Linked DNA regions of Homo sapiens: region 1 is linked to region 2. Evidence: promoter capture Hi-C in 16 types of primary human blood cells and fetal thymus (Javierre and others, 2016). All regions are on one chromosome and are shown on one strand. Each heading gives the region's core, a stretch centred on a gene start or on the middle of the fragment in contact. The rest is flanking DNA. Distances are from core to core; before and after follow the strand shown. Region 1 has its middle 31 kb from the start of ELP6. Region 2 holds the start of SMARCC1 (SWI/SNF related BAF chromatin remodeling complex subunit C1).

Region 1 (6,085 bases), core at 47-2,546, 240 kb after region 2:
AGGTAGTCGGGAGGGTGAGGCACGAGAATTGCTTGAACCCAGGAGGCAGAGGTTGCAGTGAGCCAAGATCACGCCACTGCACTCCAGCCTGGGTGACAGAGCAAGACTCCATCTCAAAAAAAAGATGTGTTGGGTAATGTACTTCTTTTTTTTTTTTTTTTTTTTTTTTTGAGACAGAGTCTCACTCTGTCGCCCAGGCTGGAGTGCAGTGGCGCGATCTCGGCTCACTGCAAGCTCCGCCTCCCAGGTTCACGCCATTCTCCTGCCTCAGCCTCCCGAGTAGCTGGGACCACAGGCGCCTGACACCACGCCTGGCTAATTTTTTTGTATTTTTAGTAGAGACGGGGTTTCACCATGTTAGCCAGGACGGAATCGATCTCCTGACCTCGTGATCCGCCCACCTCGGCCTCCCAAAGTGCTGGGATTACAGGTGTGAGTCACCGCGCCCGGCCAATGTACCTCTTTTTATATTTTCCTGAGGGGTTTGTGTATATTGGCACCATATCTTCCTTTAATGTTTAGTAGAACATTGTGGAATTTTTTTTCTATTTTTCTTTCTTTTTTTTAGACAAGGTCTTGCTCTGCCTCCTGGGCTGGAGTGCAGTGGCACGATCTTGGCTCACTGGAGCCTTGACCTCCCAGGCTCAAGCGATCCTCCCGCCTCAGCCTCCTGCAAAGCCAGGACCACAGATGCGTGCCACCATGCCCAGCTAGTTTTTGTAGTTTTTTTTTGTAGAGACAGGGTTTCGCCATGTTGCTCAGGCTGGTCTCCAACTCCTGACCTCAAACGATCTGCCCGCCTCGCCCTCCCACAGTGCTGGTTTTACAGGTGTGAGCCACCATGCCTGACCTGCACTACTATCTAATACCTAATAAAATATTTTTTAAAAAATATCTCGGCTGGGCGCAGTGGCTCACGCCTGTAATCCCAACACTTTGGGAGGCTGAGGTAGGCGGATCACCTGAGATCAGGAGTTCGAGGTCAGCCTGGCCAACATGGCGAAAGCCTGTCTCTGCTAAAAATACAAATACAAAAATTAGCAGGGCGTGGGGCGGGCACCTGTGGTCTCAACTACTCGGGACGCTGAGGTGGGAGGATCACTTGAGATCAGGAGGCGGAGGCTGCAGTGAGCCGAAATCACACCACTGCACTCCAGCCTGGGCAACAGAGCAAGACTCAGTCTCAAAAAAAAAAATCTCATTTGAAAATCCATGAGTAAAATTAAAATTTCAAATTTTATTCATTACCATTGCCCAGTTTGCAAAATAAGAAATGATTATTTTTATCATTTTATGCTTTGCCACTATCAGTTTGAAAGTTATTAGCTTTTTTCAAGGCTGGTAGCGGTGGCTCATGCCTGTAGTCCTGGCACTTTGGGAGGCGGAGGCAGGCAGATCACTTGAGGCCAAGAATTTGAGACCAGCCTACCAACATGGCGAAACTCTGTCTCTACTAAAAACACAAAAATTTTCCAGGCGTGGTGGTGCACACCTGTAATCCCAGCTACTCGAGAGACTGAGGCAGGAGAATCACTTGAACCTGGGAGGTGGCAGTTGCAGTGAGCTGAGATCATGCCACTGCCCTCCAGCCTGGGTGATAGAGCAGAACTCTGTCTCAAAAAAAGAAAAAAAAAAAAGAAATGAAAGTTACTCGCTTTTTCTATATTCATTTAGTAATTTCTCTAGAAGAGTTTTGACCCATTTTTCATTCTGTACTGAATGAAAATATTCGGTGTTGCTGCTGTTCAGTGTGGTAACCACATGTGCTATTGAGCATTTGAAGTGTGGCTAATACAACTAAGAAACTGAATTTTTAATTTTGTTTAATTTTACTTAATTTAAATGTAAATTGACCGTCATGCGACAGCTCTCCTGGCCCCTCAATGTCACGTGGCTGGCGGCTACTATATTAGATAGCATGGTTGTAGAAATTATAACTTGCATCCCTTTCTTGTCAATATATGGTTTTCACATTATTGTTATCTTCTTCCCAGGCAATTAAAGAACCTTAGAGCACTAACTCATTTGTTTCTCTCCTCATATATATGCTACAGTTAATATTTTTAAATTCTCACTATATATTTAAAATTCCAAAAGCTATTATCGTCTTGTTTCCCTTTTGTTCAATCCATCCTATGGCCACTGTGGTCTTCCTTATGTTCCTTGAATAACAAGACTCACTTCAGAGTCTTTGCACGTGCTGCTCCCTCTGCTGAGAATGTCTTTCCCTCACATCGCTGTACGGATGGCTCCTTCCCATCATTCAGATCCCTGCTCAGAGCAACGTCCTCAACGAGGCCTCCCCTGACCCTTTGTTGCAGAATTTGGTGGTTGCCTACCCAACAACAATATGGTGATCCTTCCTGAGGACCTCGTCTTTGTTTCGTTACCATGCCTCCCCTGAGAGCCCCTGTGTTTAGGAGCGAGTCCTAATTGGTAACCCAATCCAGGTGATTTCTGTCACCTTGCCAGTGATTGGTTTTATTTTTACATTTTTATTTATTTATTTATTTATTTTGAGACGGAGTTTTGCTCTTGTTCCCCAGGCTGGAGTGCAATGGCACTATCTCGACTCACCGCAACCTCCACCTCCAGAGTTCCTGCGGTTCTCCTGCCTCAGCCTCCGGAGTAGGTGGGATTACAGGTGCCCACCGCCACAGTAATTTTTTGGATTTTTAGTAGAGACAGGGTTTCACCATGTTGGCCAGGGTGGTCTCGAACTCCTGACCTCAGGTGATCCACCAACCTCGGCCTCCCAAAGTGCTGGGATTACAGGTGTGAGCCACCGTGCCCAGCCCTTAATTTTTAATTTTTTAAAATTTTGTAGACACAGGGTCTTGCCATGGTGCCCAGGCTGGTCTCAAACCCCTGGGCTCGAGTGATTCGCCCGCCTCAGCCTCCCAAAGTGCTGGGACTACAGGTGTGAGCCACTGCGTCCAGCCTTGGTGATCAGCTTTAAGCGTGAACACGTGACGCTGCTCTGGTAAATGAGTTGTGAAGTGAAGCTTACTGGGGTGAATTCCAGGAAAGTTTTTCTATCACCAGGAATAGACGATCTCTTCTCCAGTGACCTCTGACATGCATTACATCCTTAGATATAATCCTTGGCACAGTGGCAGCCATCTTGTGGCTACGAGGGGCACCAGCCTGAGGCCAAGGCTGAAGGTAACAGAACAGAGAGCAGCAAAGTGCCTGGTTCTTCACAGATGTCCGTGAGTCCCTGAAATGGTCAGTTCTGGAGCTGCCCAGTTTCCAGGTTTCTTATTACTTGAAGCCAAAAGCAGTCTAATTTTTACCTTCCCTGATGTGGCTCTCCTCACCCCACACCTCCCCCGACACTCCCTCCCACTCAGGTTCTTCAGAGTATATGTCTCTACTGGAAACTACTTTATTTTTCATTTAACAAACACTTGGCCAGGCGTGGTGGCTCACGCCTGTAATCCTAGCACTTTGGGAGGCCAAGGCTGGCAGATCACCTGAGGTCAGGAGTTCGAGACCAGCCTGGCCAACATGATGAAACCCTGTCTCTACTGAAAATATGAAAAATTAGCTGGGTGTGATGGTAGGCACCTGTAATCCCAGCTACTCGGGAGGCTGAGGCAGGAGAATCACTTGAACCTGGGAGGTGGAGGTTGCAGTGAGCTGAGATCGTGCCACTGCACTCCAGCCTGGGTTACAGAGCGAGACTCCGTCTCAAAACAAACAAACAAACAAATGAAAAACAATATTTCTGTGATGTTTACTATATGCCAGGTAGTGTTTGAAGTGCTTTACATATATTAACTCCTTTAATTCTTAGAGCTATCCTGTGTGATAGATACTTTTATTATCCCACCTTACAGAGGAGGAGGCCCAGGCACAGAGGTTAAATAGCTTTCCGGTGGTCAGATGGTGGAGCCAGGGCTGGGCTTTGAACCCAGAGCCTTCAGCCTGTGGAGTCAGTGCCCATAACCATTCTTTGCCTCTGTGTAGTTTTTCCGCATTGGTTTACTTGCTTTCTGCCTGAGGAGTCAGAATAGAGATTTCTGAGAGCAGGGATCCTGATTGTCTTGTTCACTACCTGGTCTCAGGGCACTCAGTAGGTGGTAGTCTTTGTTGAGTGAATGGATGGATGGATGAATGAATGCATGGTAGACTCTGTTTCCTTGAGGATGGAGCAGTTTCTTGTTTGCATCGTGGCCCTGGGCTTGGAAGAGGGCTGAGCCTTCTTGGGATGTATTGATGGGGCCTGTGGAGTGAGCTGAACTCTGGATCCCTGATGCCACCCCTCTCTGAGGCCCCCGGGGAGGCCTGTGCCGAGGTCTCAGGAGCCCTCAAAAGCGTGGCCCTTTGTTTGGGTTTGCCCTCTGGTTGCCGGGTGCTCCCTCGGCCGGCTCCCTCCTCCCTTCGCTGCAGAAGAAAGGGAGCTGGCCCTCTTTCCCCTTGGCACTATGTGTGCTCATTGGAAGTTCCTGAGGCCAGGCCCAGTGGGCGGCCCGAGCTGCCATCGTTAATCACACAGCCTGCTGCTGCCTGCCCACGCGGCTAGCTTTGAGGGCCGGCCAGAGCCTCTGGTGGGAACCACTCGCTGCTCTAATTGGGCCTCTCCTGGGAGGCGGCAGGCCCTGATTCTCACTTGTCTTTACTCTGGTGACTGCTTGGCCCTCTCAAGGAGGACAGCACGCTTCCTGGTCCGGCCGGCTCTATGGCCAGCCAGGGCAGAAGTTCACCCTTGTTCTACAGATGGAGAAACAGAAACCCTGGGGCAGACCGGGTCCATGTCCAAGGCCACGACAAGGTTGCCAGGAGTAACCACCAGAAAGCCAAGTGCCATGGCTTTGCTCCTCACTCTGCTGGCAACTGGAATGAGTTCCCACAGGAAAAAAGACCTCCCTTTGGCTCCCCTGGCTTCCCAGGCCCTGCCAAATGCCAGACACCGGACTCTAGCTTCTGGCATTCATAGAGAACTATCCATGTGAGAACTGTCACCCACCCCAGAGACCCTGCCAACCTGCAAAAAAGTGGAGGAGAGCATGACCAGCAGGAGCACACTGCAGGCCCCTCTGACACGGAGCGGGACAAGCTGGTAACCAGGTACCCATGTGACTTCCCTGCCCTGTGCCTTGATTTACCCTTCCTGGAAAATGGAAAGAGTTTCAGATGCATAATGTCAGGGACCAGGGGAGGCTTGTCTGTGAGGGACTTGCAACATGCTTTCCCCAGGCAGACTCAGAGAGACTCTCGGGGCAGGATGAGCTTGATCATCAGCTGGCCCCAGACCTCCATCTGTGGCTGAAATCACCCCTGCAAAATTTCAAAGATCATGCACCTCGCACAGTTGGACTTCCTCCAGCAGAAAGCCCTCATGACTTCCCACCGTGCTTCACTCCCTGTTTTGTTCTTCTACCACTTCCCCACCTTCCCCACCTTTTGTTAGATGGGTCATTTTTTCAGTGAGCCCTCCTGCCTCCCTGAGTCACACTGTGGACCTAGTCTACTCTCTGAGCGCTTGGAATAAATGAGTAAGTCCTCCTTTTTCTTTCATCATCTTTCCAAGAACAAAATACAACTAGAGTGCCACTCCTGAACCTTCTCTCCTCTTGGCTGAATGTCTTTAGTCCCCTCAGCTGACCCTCACGTGACAGCTCTCCTGGCCCCTCAATGTCACAGGTGCTTTTCTTAGGACATTTGTGGGGGTTCGGAAGGGGCTGCGCTTCTCTAGGTGCTGCCTGAACTCAGAGGAGCACACATGCCTCCTTGCCCAGGCACACATGAACATTCACAGGGCAGGACTGGGGGACACACAGAGGGCCATGTCTGAAAGTTTATGAGTAATCGTACAAACTAACTATTCAATAAGCAAATCTCCACTCTGACCTTCATGATGACTTGGAATGCTAAGTTTGAATTTAGATTTCTTGGACTCCTCAGAGTTCTGTTTGAGAATGTGCTGGGGCCGGGAGAGGAGCCCTGCTGCCCCCAACCTGGTCCCTCTCCTTGTATCCCGGGCTGTACCTGTAATGCAGGGGATTTCAGGGATCCGCGTGCGGCCCCCTGAGGCCACATGTTCCCGCTTTGTTCACAATCCCTTAGCCTCCTCTCAGAC
Region 2 (5,354 bases), core at 1,718-4,217:
CAGCTTATTATCATCACCCCAGAAAGTTCTCTCATGCCCCTTCACTTCCCCAGAGGCAACCACACTTCAGTTTAACCTATTCTGTAACTCCACGTATATTGAATCATACACTATACATTGGGTATATATATATAGTTACCCATATAACTTGGGTAAGACTCCCCAGTGTTGCATGTATCAAGTTTATTCCATTGGGTTATTGATTAATTGGTCAGCTGAGTTACTGGTCTTTTCATTACTGAGTTGTAAGAGCTCTTTCTATACTCTAGAAACAAGTTTCTTTTTTTTTTGAGATGGAGTTTCGTTCGTCCACCCAGGCTGGCGTGCAGTGGCGAGATCTTGGCTTACTGCAACATCCACCACCTTCCGGTTTCAAGCCATTGTCTTGCCTTAGCCTCCCAAGTAGCTGGGATTACAGATGCCTGCCACCACACCCGGCTAATTTTTGTATTTTTAGTAGAGATGGAGTTTCACCAGGTTGGCCAGGCTGGTCTCGAACTCCTGACCTCATGATCTGCCTGCCTTGGCCTCCCAAAGTGTTGGGATTACGGGTGTGAGCCACTGCGCCCGGCCAATATACTTTCAAAATACCTCCACAAAGGGATCAATTGAGCCTAGGAAGTGGAGGTTGCAGTGAACCATGATCACACCACTGCACTCCAGCTTGGGTGACAAAGCAAGACTTTATCTCAAAAAACCCCCGAAAAGCAAAAAAACAAAATACCTCCATAGAAAATAGTGATTAATTACAAAGGCAAAAAGAATAACTTCGCAGTAGAGAAACCTGGATGATACTCTGTCATCAATGTAACAGGAGAAATGAAATTATGCACCACCTGATAGAATGCAATGCAAAGAACACAAAGATACAAACATCAGACAAACTTAAATTGAGGGTCATTCTACAAAATAAATGCCTTGTAATCTTCATAGGTATCAATGTTGTTAAGGTTTAAGGACTAAGGAACTGTTCCATATTGAAGGAGATGAAACTTTATTAAATGCAAAGTGTGATTTTGAACTGGAAACTTTTGCTATAAAGGACTTCATGGTGCAATAGGAAAAACCTGAATGGGGTCTGGGGATGGCATCAGTGTTAATTTCCTGGTATAAATGATTGTATTGTGATTATGTAAGAGAATATATAGACTATACTTGTCTGTAGAAAATACACATTAAACTTTTTGATAGTGATGGGTATTATGTCAGCAACTTACTCTTAGATGATTCAGGAAAAGTTCTTTGTATTATATTTGCAACTTTTCTGTTAAATCTGAGAAAGTTTCAAATTAAAAACTTTTTTTTTCAGACGAGTTTGGCTCTGTCGCCTAGGCTGGAGTGCAGTGGCGTGATCTCAGCTCACTGCGATCTCCACCTCCTCCTGGGTTCAAGCAATTCTCCTGCCTCAGCCTCCCGAGTAGCTGGGATTACAGGCATGCACCACCACACCTGGCCAATTTTTGTAGTTTTAGTAGAGACGGGGTTTCACCATGTTGGCCAGGGTGGTCTGGAACTCCTGACCTCGTGATCAGTCTGCCTTGGCCTCCCAAAGTGTTGGGATTACAGGCGTGAGCTATCTCGCCTGGCCCTCTTGATCACATTCTATTAACTTTTTTATTTAATATATTTTACTGTCCGTGACACAGCCCTCAGGAGATCCTGAAAACATGTACACACCCTCATTTTTAAAAGATCTCAGAAACTTACCAGCAGTTAGTCACGTTCTCACAAGCAATTAGTTACTTGCTTCTCTGCGATCATATAGCATTATGTTCACAACTCCATTATGGCCAGTCATACTTTTTATGTTTCTGAAACAGGGTTTCGCTCTGTCGCCCAAGCTGAAGTGTAGTGAGTGGCGCGATTATAGCTCACTGCAGCCTCCATCTCCCCAGCTCAAGGGATCCTCCCACCTCAGCCCTCCAAGAGGCTAGGACCACAGGCTTGCAACACAACGCTGGCTGATTTTTGTATTTTTTGTAGAGACGGGGATGGGTGTGGTGGTCTAGAGCTCCTGGGCTCAATTGATCCTCCCGCCTCAGCCTCCCAAAGTGCTCCGCACCCGGCCAATATACCTTGTTAATAATTTAAAAATTTTCGGCTTCTATGTGGGCCATTCATTAACTCATCAAGTATTTACTGTACATCTGTTCCTTGTCTCAGGTGTTCAGGATACACCTGTGAACAAGTTAAGATTAGGTTCTCATGTAATTTATGTGGAAGGTAAATGAGAAACTAGAAACGCCGGGTCGTGGTGAGCGCTATGCAGAAAGTGTATGGGTGTGAACAGTTGTTCAAGATTGTTAAGATCTGACAACTACTTTCTGAAGTCCTTTGAAGCAGTGAATCTGAACGCGTCTCGTAAGTGCAAATCAGAAGGGAAGACCTGCTGAGGTCTCGAAAGAGCCAGTGCAAGGGCCCCTGGGGCAGGAATGAGCCGCTGTGGCTGGACCCCTGAGGGAGTGGAAGGTCTGTGAAGCCGAAAAGCCTAGGCGTGGGAGTCCCAGATGGCTGTTCACAAATGCCGCCGGGCCGCTGGGGGTGGAGGGCCTGAGGGAAAGCGGGGCCCGGCGCAGTCCCAGTCCGGGTGCAGGGCCCTCGGCCAGCACTCGATACCCTAGACAGGCTTTCCCTTGGGCATTTCTCGCACCAGGCCTTTTCCCTCCAGCGGAGGCGGGCTATGACACATAACCCACCTGCGGTTGTTGACCGCATAATGATTCGACGTCGGTAGCGAGGGAAGAGCAAGGCTCAAAAACCGGCGCTCACTAGGGCAGAATGCAGCCTACGGAGGATGGCGGAAGAGGCGGCTGAGGCCGCAGGACGTGCTATTCCAAGGCACGGCCGCACGAGTGCTACGCATGCGCGTGCGCTGGCTCGCGTCAGATACAGTGCCAGTTCCCAGATGGGGCGGGGCCGGGCGTCCGCGCCGGAAGAGGGTTGGCTGGGCGGGGCCGGGAAGCGGCAGTGGCGGCTACGCGCGCGGGGGTGCGCGCGGGAACGACCGGGAAACACCGCGAGGGCCGGGGTGGGCCAGGCTGTGGGGACGACGGGCTGCGACGATGGCCGCAGCGGCGGGCGGCGGCGGGCCGGGGACAGCGGTAGGCGCCACGGGCTCGGGGATTGCGGCGGCAGCCGCAGGCCTAGCTGTTTATCGACGGAAGGATGGGGGCCCGGCCACCAAGTTTTGGGAGAGCCCGGAGACGGTGTCCCAGCTGGATTCGGTGCGGGTCTGGCTGGGCAAGCACTACAAGAAGGTGGGTTCGCGCGCCCGTGGGGGCCGGGAGACCACGCGACCGGGGCCGGAGGCGGCAGCTGGCCTCGCGGGCCTCGGGCCGCCCCTCCCCCCCGCACGCCACGAGGGACAACAAAGGCAGGCGCCGGGCCCGCCACGCCCCCGCCGCCCGCTCTGGGCGCCCGCGATCCCGGGGCCTGACTGGGGTTCGGGGCTCTCTCCTCTGAGCCTACGCACCCATGGTGAAAGCCCCTGCTCAGTCTCGTGTGCCAGAGCAGGTCGAGCTCAGCCACTAAGCGAGTGTGACTCTCTCTCTTTTGTCAGCTGCCTTAGGTGTGTGAACAATGATCCCTAAAGACCGAGCAAGCGTGGTAAAAGCAGCTTCAAGTTTTGTTTAGAGCGTATTCAAAGTCTCGAGGGGGTTTGCTACCTGTTGTTGAATTGCTAAACGACTGGGATGATTGTATTCGTTAATTAATAACAGGCAATATGAATTCTAGGATGGATGAGAACTATTAACGACGGTTCTACCTCATCGTGCTTCTGGTTCTGTGTGGCGTGAGAGTTGATGGTCGCTTGTACGTAAAGTGTTCTAAAGGGAGGCCTTCCCCAAGAACCCAGTTTTTATTAGAGCACTTTTCTTGTGTCACCTTTATTTTCTTCGTAGTGTTTACCACATTTTGAAATTATTCATTTACTGATTTCTCCTACCTTTGGAACGGAAGTTCCGCCGAGTCAGTAGTTTTCAAAGTTTTGACTTAATCCTTTGTTTATAACAAATGTTTTTTTTTTTTCCAACTTCCCTTTTGTGTAAATATTCAGGAGGACTCCCTTAAAGGGTGTAATGAAGCAGGTAGCCGAAAAGGCTCCCCAGCCTCTGAAGTTTTCCTATCACCCTCTTTAGTTCTGTACTTTCTCCTATTGAGAATCATAGCACTGAAGCAAGGGCTTTGTTCACTGCAGTGTATCCGGGAACGTGGCTGATACTTATTGCCTTACCCTTAGTGGCTGCTTAGTAAATATTTGTTGAATGAATGAAAACATAAACTAGTTTAGGAACCTATTTTTTTGGCCTCAGCAGCTCAGTGAAGCCTGTCAGTGTTTGGCAGTTATTAGGCATGGGCAGGGATCTTGGGTTCCTTTGGCATTACACGTGGTACATTCAGAAATGACCATTTCTGGCCGGGCGCGGCTTGGAAGGCCGGGCGGGTGGATCACCTGAGGTCAGGAGTTCGAGACTAGCCTGACCAACATGGTGAAACCCCGTCTTTCCAAAAAATACAAAATTAGTCGGGTGTGGCAGCACATGCCTGTAATCCCAGCTACTCGGGAGGCTGAGGCAGGAGAATCTCTTGAACCCAGGAGGCAGAAGCTGCAGTGAGCCGAGATTGCACCATTGCACTCCAGCCTAGGTAATAAAGTAAGACTGTCTCCAAAAAAAAAAAAAAAAAAAAAACAAAAAAAAACCAAAGACCCAGAAATGATCATTTCTTTCTTTCTTGTTTTTGAAGGTCAGCTAGAAAAATTACATTTCTTATCTGAAGTTTGAGGAAGTGAGAGACAGTAATTATATTTTTAGGTGTCTGGACTTTTCCTCCTCTGAAATTACATTTAGACTGTAGATTTTTAGTAATATTGCCCTTTCTTACACAGTGATAAATTGGTCACTTTTTAAATGTAAGTAATAGAGCTTCCAGAAGTGGCTAATGGAATTGAATATGTTATGAAAATATTGGTTAATTCTTCTTTATTACATTCCTTTTAGCCAATGCTTTGGGTCTTAAATTCAGTGAAGCTTTAACAAAGAAAAATAATCTACAGGCATATTCCTTTGAATAATATCAAGGAAGAGAGTAGAAAAAGGCAAATTTCAGTAATTTCTACCTCTCCGCACTGTTCAGTGTGCATCAGTTTGGGATCAACTACAAGAAGCTTTAGACATGGATAATCCTTCGATATTTGTTTGGGTGGGTAGGGAAGTGGCTACAAAGCAGTTTGAGGAATTGCCCAGCAGTATTGAGACCACTAGGCTAATGTTGATTCACTATCCCTGAGACTTTATAGACAAAGTTACCTTTGACTTCTCAGGACTTTGTAAAGCCAGAGTGTATTTCTAGGG

What was found. Contacts are between HindIII fragments. The CHiCAGO score rates a contact against its expected background, and 5 or more counts as called.
Region 1: a contact is called between a fragment that was not itself captured here and the fragment with the promoter of SMARCC1 in region 2, in 1 of 17 cell types (endothelial precursors). The highest score is 7.4, in endothelial precursors.

What each region holds. Positions count from the first base shown.
Region 1 is chr3:47,541,313-47,547,397 of GRCh38, reverse strand. No RefSeq gene overlaps it. Among named protein-coding and RNA genes, the nearest start is that of ELP6, 31 kb to the right of the region's middle. RefSeq lists an enhancer at 3,953-4,453. The HindIII fragment of the contact is 3,422 bases long and covers 1-3,007 here.
Region 2 is chr3:47,779,506-47,784,859 of GRCh38, reverse strand. It overlaps SMARCC1 (SWI/SNF related BAF chromatin remodeling complex subunit C1), which reads left to right and starts at 2,967. Exons shown (of 28, transcript NM_003074.4): 1 at 2,967-3,257. The coding sequence starts at 3,063. RefSeq lists silencers at 2,224-2,283, 2,394-2,443, 2,854-3,073, 3,254-3,493 and an enhancer at 2,727-3,021. The HindIII fragment of the contact is 14,461 bases long and covers 1-5,032 here.